Linked DNA regions of Homo sapiens: all the other regions are linked to region 2. Evidence: promoter capture Hi-C in 16 types of primary human blood cells and fetal thymus (Javierre and others, 2016). All regions are on one chromosome and are shown on one strand. The core of a region is centred on a gene start or on the middle of the fragment in contact, and the rest is flanking DNA. Distances in the headings are between cores, read along the strand shown. Region 1 overlaps SWT1 (SWT1 RNA endoribonuclease homolog). Region 2 holds the start of RNF2 (ring finger protein 2). Region 3 overlaps NIBAN1 (niban apoptosis regulator 1).

The links. The method cuts DNA at HindIII sites, captures the fragments that hold promoters and counts their contacts. A CHiCAGO score of 5 or more calls a contact.
Region 1: a fragment that was not itself captured here is called in contact with the fragment with the promoter of RNF2 in region 2 in 3 of 17 cell types (megakaryocytes, erythroblasts and fetal thymus); the score reaches 8.3 in megakaryocytes.
Region 3: a contact is called between a fragment that was not itself captured here and the fragment with the promoter of RNF2 in region 2, in 10 of 17 cell types (M2 macrophages, megakaryocytes, total CD8 T cells and 7 more). The highest score is 7.0, in M2 macrophages.

The regions. Positions count from the first base shown.
Region 1 is chr1:185,172,468-185,175,167 of GRCh38, forward strand. It overlaps SWT1 (SWT1 RNA endoribonuclease homolog), which reads left to right. Exons shown (of 19, transcript NM_017673.7): 5 at 1,905-2,646. Among named protein-coding and RNA genes, the nearest start is that of SWT1, 17 kb to the left of the region's middle. The HindIII fragment of the contact is 1,045 bases long and covers 761-1,805 here.
Region 2 is chr1:185,044,123-185,046,822 of GRCh38, forward strand. RNF2 (ring finger protein 2) reads left to right here and starts at 1,436. Exons shown (of 7, transcript NM_007212.4): 1 at 1,436-1,527. RefSeq lists a silencer at 1,066-1,325. The HindIII fragment of the contact is 4,610 bases long and covers 100-2,700 here.
Region 3 is chr1:184,809,206-184,811,905 of GRCh38, forward strand. The region is part of intron 9 of NIBAN1 (niban apoptosis regulator 1); the gene reads right to left. It also overlaps a transcript of LOC107985238 not described here. Among named protein-coding and RNA genes, the nearest start is that of EDEM3, 56 kb to the left of the region's middle. The HindIII fragment of the contact is 3,316 bases long and covers 1-2,700 here.

The DNA.
Region 1 (2,700 bases), core at 33-2,532, 130 kb after region 2:
TAGCAGTTACTTTGTACCTGATTGTTTTGCTATTATAAGTAATCCTGAATTAAATATCTTTTAATATTTTTTTCATGTGTGATTTTCTTCACCTTGGTATGGTTTCTAAAATGAGAATTTCAGATGTAAAAAAATGACCATTTTTAGAGTTTTTAATTTATATTCACATTTCTTTGTGGGACTGTTATGTTGTTTTACATTTCTACCAGCAACATGTGAGAGTGTCCATTTTACAACCCCTTGCGAGTATTTGATGTTATTGTAAAATCTTTGCTAATTTGATAGAAGAAAATGGTATGGGCCAGCTGCGGTGGCTCACACCTGTAATCCCAGCACTTTGGGAGGCCGAGGTGGGCAGATCACGAGGTCAAATCGAGACCATCCTGGCCAACATGATGAAACCCCGTCTCTACTAAAATACAAAAAACTAGCCGGGCGTGGTGGTGTGTGCCTGTAGTCCCAGCTACTTGGGAGGCTGAGGCAGGGGAATCGCTTGAACCTGGGAGGCGGAGGTTGTGGTGAGCCAAGATTGCACCACTGCAGTCCAGCCTGGCGACAAAGCGAGACTCCGTCTCAAAAAAAAAAAAAAAAAAAGAAGAAAATGGTATGTTATTGTTATTATTAGCATGTCTGTGATTGCTAGAGAAGTCAAACTTTTTAAAAATGTTTATTAGCTGTTTTCTTTTATTAATTTTCTGTTTATGCCCTATTCTAGAATCTTAGTAGTTTTTGGTGAGCTTTTTATCTACTAAGGCTAGTAAGCTTATTAACATTATTTTGCTAGAAGTTAGTACATCTAACAAATACCATTTCCTAGTTCTTTAAATTTTTATTAATTTTTAATACGCTAAAGTTTTAAAGTAAATAGTCACATATTATCAGTGTTATCCTTTGTTATTTCTCCCACTGTTTTTAAGTTTGGGAAGTTCTCTATTAAGAAATCAGGTTGGGCGTAGTGGCTCATGCCTGTAGCCTCAGCACACTGGGGAGGCTAAGGTGGGCAGATTGCTTGAGCCCAGGAGTTCGACCAGCCTGGGCAACATGGTGAAACCCTGTCTCTACCAAAAAAAAAAAAAAAAAAAAATACAAAAATTAGCCAGATGTGGTAGTGTGCATCTGTAGTGCCAGCTACTCAGGAGGCTGAGGCAGGAGGATCTCTTGAGCCTGATATGTTGAGTTTGGAGTGAGCCAAGATCGCGCCACTGCACTCCAGCCTGGTGACAAAGTGAGGCGCTGTCTCAAAAAAAGAAAAAGAGAAATCGGATAGGCCGGGGTACAGTGGCTCACACCTGTAATCCCAGCACCTTGGGAGGCCGAGGCAAGTGGATTGCTTGAGCCCAGGAGTTTGAGACCAGCCTGGGCAACATAGCAAAACCTTGTCACTACAAAAAAATTACAAAAATTAGCTAGGCATTGTGGCATGCTCCTGTAGTCCCAGTTACGTGGTAGTCTGGGAGGTAGAAGGATTTCCTGAGCCTGGGAGGTTGAAGCTGCAGTGAGCCATGTTTGCATCACTGCACTCTAGCCTAGGCAACAGAGTGAGAACCCGTCTCAAAAAAAATGAAATCACACATACGTTCTGTTTTTCCTCACTGGTTTTTAAGGGTTTAATATGAAGCACAAAATTATTATGATAATAATAATTATTTTACACTTAAGCATTTAGTCCATTTGGAATTTATGTTGTTTGTTACTATTTAAAGTTGTAATTTTTTTTTCCAAATAGCAAACTAATTATTCTAACACCATTAAGTGAGTAATCCTTTCCACTTCATTCTTAATGTAGCTATTTCTACTTTTTATGAAGCTTAATGTCAGCCCAATTCTGTTATTCTAACTAAAATGATAGAGTGCAACATTATGTATAATTATAATGTAACCTAGGTTTCTGTGCTGTTTTACAGATTGAGTGTAGAAATTGACACTCTCAGAAGGAGACCAAAAATCGGTTCTTCATCCCAAAGACCTATTAAACTCAAAGAAGCATCATATTCAAATGATAATCAAATTATTTTGCAGAGTCCTTCTTCAAATGGAACTAAAAAAGACATACATAAATGTGTAGACTTTAAACCTAAAGATATCAAATTGACAAATGCTGGGAGCAAGCTTGACCATGGAATTAAAAGCCTTAGTAGTCCTAAGATTGCCAGTGATGTGAAACCTAAAGCCGAAGGCCAGGCAAGTGAAAATAAATGGTCTCATTTACTTGTTCAGAGAGAGAAGATGAAAGAACTCAAGAAAGGAAGAAACAGTAAATTTAGAGACAATTCTGAAAAATGTGTCTTAGAGAAATGGAAGAGAAATCAATTTTCTCAGGATTATAACTCCAACAAGATAATTAAGGAACCCTTGGGATCTAGAAGACAGAAGATCAGTTTCAAAATCCCTATAAAATCCCGTGACACCCTCCAGAAACTTGTAGAAGAAAATGTCTTCAACATAGATTCTAATAATTCGAAGACTAAGCAGGAAGAAAGAGAATACCTGGAAAGCTCCCAGGTTTCATTAAATGTGACTAGGCAGAAAACTGAACATTTACTTTCAGATTTTACATATAAGCGGACTGTTCATGAGTGGAAACGAAAACATCATTATGACCATCAAGAAAGTAATGATTCACATTCTAGGGAAAACCTAACCCAGGTAAGGTAGTAAAAAATGAAGAATATAGGTTTTAACTGAGAGTTTATTAATATA
Region 2 (2,700 bases), core at 186-2,685:
TTTTTTCTCCCCCCACATTGGAGGAAGAGTTTAACCTTGAAGGGCTTGTAGAGTCAGATAACTGTCACTTGTTATTTAAAGTTATAGATAGTAGGCAAAAGCTTTCAAGCCACTGAAAAAGAATAATGCTTGTTTTCTTTGATGGATTGTTAGGTAGCATATATAATGTGCTGTATTTAACACCTGTCCTTTTTCTTTCCACCCATCCAAGGCGTCAAAGGCCATCTTAAATCCCGGCTCCTCAGGAAATCATCCCCAAACACACCAGCTGGAATTGATATTTTTCTTTTCCAAATTCCTATGTAAATTCATGTCATTTATTTGGAATTGCTTATAGAGAGTTTCAGAGCGTTAAAGAACTGGAAAGGACCTAGGATTCAATACAATTCTCTCATCTCGCAGACGAAGAAAATGAAGTGCAGAGGAGCTACGCAATCTACGTAAGTCACATAGACACACATTGGAGGCTATGAACCTAGTTTGCCCAATTCCCACTGCAGTCCATTGGTTTATGCCTCTATGCCTTCAGATTTACGGTCTGGTATTGCTGGTTATCTTCTCAAGAGAACATGACATCTCAACAATAGTACATATAGAGATCAGGGAACTTTCAATTCTTCGTTACTTCTTCAGCTCATAATTTATATGCATTAAATGTCGGATAATTTACTGGAGACTAACTGGCTGTGTTTTAGGTAATGATTACATCTATTAATCTATTACTTCGTAAATCCTCAAGTTCAGAAGGTAACACTGGAAGGGGCCAAGGAGGTAGGAATAAAGCAGCAGCAAGGTAAATAGTAAGAGCTGATGACCACAATCAGAATGTTAAGCTAAGTTTAGAGTGGAAGGTCATTTTCCCAGGAGCAATTACACTTGCAGTTTTATCCTGCAAGGATGAAAAGTGTATGTTTGTTGTACGAGAGCGGAAGGGTGCCGAAGTTCATGTGAAGTTCTGCAAACCAAAGCCTGATGAGGATTTCCGCCGGGTGGGACAGGTTTAAGAGGACGAACTCATGAGAAAGAAGTCTGAGCCCAAACCCCAGAAGCCGGCCAGGAAGGTGTAAAGGGTGGGCCGAAGCCAGGGCAGAAGAACCCAAGCAGAAGGTTGAGCACGAGGTGGCTGCGCCGTCATCCGGGCGTTGCCCGGGGGCTACGTCGGACCGCGGTGGGCGCCGGGGGGGCGTGGCCGGCCAGCCCAGGGCGGGGCGGTGGCGCGGGTTCTCCAGGCCAACACGCGGCGGCGCACCCTCCCTCGCGCCGCGGGCCTCCCCGCGCCGTGCACGTCCTCGTCCCGCGCCTCCGCCCCTCGCTCGCTCGCTCCTTCCCGCCCTCCCCGCAGCGCCGGCCGAGCCGGCTTCCCCTCAGTCTCTCATGAATATTGAGCGGCCCCTGTTGTATTTCCCGAGCTCCATTGCGGAAGCTGAGGCTCGCCATATTGTGCGGCGGCGCCGGCGTCCGCGGCAGCTGATACCAGAGTCTTGCTCCGGCCGCGGCCAGCGGAGCCCTGGGCTGGGGCAGGAGCCGGTGAGTGGGGCGGGCGGGGAGGCGAAGGACGCGGAAGCAGCGGGCCGGGACACGCGTCTACTCGGCAGCGTTGCAGGCGACTGACGGGGGCCCCGGAGTGTGGGGGGGGTGTGTGTCCGCGGGGGTGTGAAGGGACATGGCGCCGCCGCCGCCCCCGGCCGCTCTCGCGGCGGAGACGGCGGGTGAAGCGGGTTCTCATTGTTCCCGTGTCTTCGAGGGTCGTGGGAGGGAAGGGAGCTGGTTTGCGGAGGACCCAGTCAGCGAAGCGCCGGGATTCCTTCCTTCGCCGCGAGCCTTTCGCTGCCCTTTCCTCTGCGCGGAGGCCGGCGCTGCGGCGCGGTCCCCTCGCCTCCGGGGGCGGGGGCCCCAGCCTCTCTGCAGCCCTACTCCGGAGGCGGACGGAGTGGAATGCGAGTTTTTTCTCTGGGCTTTCGCCTCGCAGCTAGGGATGTGTGTCTGCATCGTGGGGGTGGGGTAGGGGGCACTTTGTGCAGATATCGCTCCTTCCTTCTGGGGGGTCGGAGTCGGGGTTCCAGTGTAGAGGAGCTCCTCGACCTCGGGGTTCCTCGGGGAGACCCCTTCAGCTTCACACATTCCTGGAGTGCCGCCTCCTGCTCTGGAGTATCTGTTGCTGCTTTCTAAAACCGTGAGCTTACCCAGGAGGAGTCGTGGGGGGAGGGGGTGTCTTGGTTAGTTTCTGCGGGAAGATTCGCGTTTTGAACCGTGTCGTTTACGCTGAGATGCTAGTACCCACTTTTGCCGGGAGCCCACGTCCTGCTGGTCAGAATCGTTTACCTTCTACAGAAGTCTCCTTCTTGCTTTCAGAGATGGTGTTAGTAAAAATTGATCTCAAACTTTGAGGTTCATTCCAGTTATTTGCCCGCTAAGATCAATTATAGACTCATCTATTTGAAGCCCCTTTGGGTATCTTTTTCGAGGCTGTCGGAAGTTTTAGAGAATGTAACTTTACATTGTAAAATGATTTGAAGATGTCAGGTTTCTTTGAAGTGCCGTGAAAAGGATATACATATGCACTCAGTATTTTAGTAATACGCTGTTTTTCAATTAAAAAAATTAAGGCATGGTTTCAGTGTTCTAAACCGAGGATATGTTTAAAACGAATGTACGAGCGATTTGCATTACATAATCTACTTTTGGTAATTCCAAGATGAT
Region 3 (2,700 bases), core at 160-2,659, 230 kb before region 2:
TTTAAAGGGAAAATACTGCTCCCTTTATGAAGTGAGTTATGGAGAGGTCCACTGAAGTGAAGTAAGGATCAAAAGCATGCTGTGGAACTTGCAGCTCCTCACCAAATGGAATGTGTCTATTTTTAAAAAATATCAATTAAGCAGACAGAAGAGGAAAAATGGGTTCCCACTTTGCTCCTATCAGATTGGCAAAAGTTTAATCAAATGATAACACCTATAGCTGATAGCAGTATGGGGGAGAAAGCCCTTATCATACACAATTAGTGGAAATGTAAAATTTAAATCCTTTTTTTTGAAATGCAATGGAAACATTTTTTAACATGAGAAATGTACTTTCAACCTGGCTATCTTGTCTTAGGAGAATATACTATAGAAATAAATACATCAGGGTATATGTGTGTGTATATATATATATACACATATATATGTGTGTGTGTATATATATATACACATATATATGTGTGTGTGTATATATATATACATATATATGTGTATACATAAAAATATTAATTTATTATGCTTTATTCATAATGCCAGCAATATTGAGATGAATGAATAAATCATGGTGTATCCATACATGAAACATCATGCAGCCATTACAAAGAAAGATTTAGAGCTAAAACAGTTACCTTGGAAACAGTTTCATGGGGTATTTTTGGAAGAGAAACTGATAAGCAGAGTAATGTATAAAATATAATCCCATTTTTCTTAAAGCAGACAATCTAAAGTCTAGCCTCTAAGGGTGTGTTTTATGTGCTAGATAAGAATGGGGAAAATACAGAATGGCATATGCTAAGTTGTTAACACGAGTTGCTTGAGGGGAGGAGGTGGCATTGGGGAAGGGGAAGAGTGAAGACAAGTAAAACAAAACAGGCTGCAATAAGAAACCCCAAAACATTTCTAAAATGATCCTGTTAATGCACAATTATATATGTGTATATATGCATAAAGAATAAAGGAAAAGAAATAGAGACATCTGGTTTTATCTACTGACTTGTAAGGATGTTCATCATGATATGTCAAGTATAAAACCAAGCTGCCAATTTATATCTTTTTCAGTGATTCTTAAACTGTAGGGTACACCAGAACCTCTGGAGGTCTTGTTAAAACAGACTCCTGGGCACTACCCCTAGATTTTCTGATTTAGTAGATCATTGGTGGGGCCCGAGAATTTGCATTTTTAACAACCAGGTGATGATGACACTGCTGGTCTGGGGACCATACTTTCAGAAATATTGATCTGTTAAAGCAAACTAAATACAGCCTGAGAAGGACTCCATACTTCCATATTTTAGTCCTTGTGGATGAACTGTAAGAGTCAGATAAAATTGAAAACCTAACTTAGTAGTATGCACCTGTAACAATAACTGAGTGTTGACCAGTCCCAGCAGCCATACTTCAACTACTCATAGACTGCTAAATGTTCAAATAAGGCAAATGCTGAGTTGTAACCAGTCTCACTATTTCTGTTCCTCACTTCTGATTCCTGTACGTCACCTTACCTTTTTTGTCTGTAAATTTATTCTGACTGTGAGGCACCCCCGGAGAATTTGTGAATCTGCTGTGATTCTAGGGACTGCCCGATTTGCGAATCATTCATTGCTCAGGTAAACTCCTTTAAATTTAATTTGGCTGAAGTTTTTCTTTTATCAGATGGTGTCAGAAGCAGGATCCGAAGTGGAGCTTCTAGTGACTCCCAGGAGCGCTGAGTGAACACACAAGGTACCTGCAGGTCCCACCTGTGTCCATTGATCTCTCAGAGCGGCTGGGGATCGCGGTAAGCTCCCTCTCGGAATTTGAAGCTCCATAGATTTGTGTTTTGAGCTCTCTGAGTTTCTTCGAGCAAGTTTCTGATCCAAACTGGGTTTGTAGTCATGACAGAAACTGGACTGGGTCCAGGAACAGATTTGATCCAGGAATTAACTGGCTTGGACCCAGTCAGAGGCCTCGTATATCTGACTGGGTCAGAAAGGAACTGGTAGTAAGCAGTAATATTGCAGGGGTTATAAAATTTGGCTTTTGAAAATTCACAGGGATTTCTGTGTTCTACCCCTTTTTTCATTTTTCTTGTGTGCTTAGGTAGGAAAAATCATTGGCTAAGTTAAGAGAACCTGGGAGTAAAGCCAATATTTTAGGTTAAAATGGGCTCCTTAATTTCTGGAAAACTGAGTTCCTTCTGGCTTATACATTAGGCCTGGGAGGCAGTGAAGTCTTACAGAAACAGCAAAATCTTACTGAAGATAATTTACAGTGGAATGTTCCGAAAGAACAACAATGCATTGAGGTACTTTCTTCCTTTTTTTTTTTGTTTTTTTTTTTGAGACGGAGTCTCACTCTGTCTCCCAACTAGAGTGCAGGCGCGATCTTGGCTCACTGAAAGTTCCACCTCCTGGGTTCATGCCATTCTCTTGCCTCAGCTGGGACTACAGGCACCCCGCCACCACGCCCGGCTAATTTTTGGTATTTTTAGTAGAGACAGGGTTTCACCATGTTAGCCAGGATGGTCTCGATTTCCCGACCTCACGATCCGCCCGCCTCGGCCTCCCAAAGTGCCAGGATTACAGGCCTGAGCCACTGCGCCCGGCTGCATTGAAGTACATTTTTAAAATGAGGGCTCTCAGTAAAGTCCCTTTTGGCTAGGAACGGTTTTGGCACTACAGGATGTCAACTGCTATTCCCTTTGGAATAATCTGACTTGCA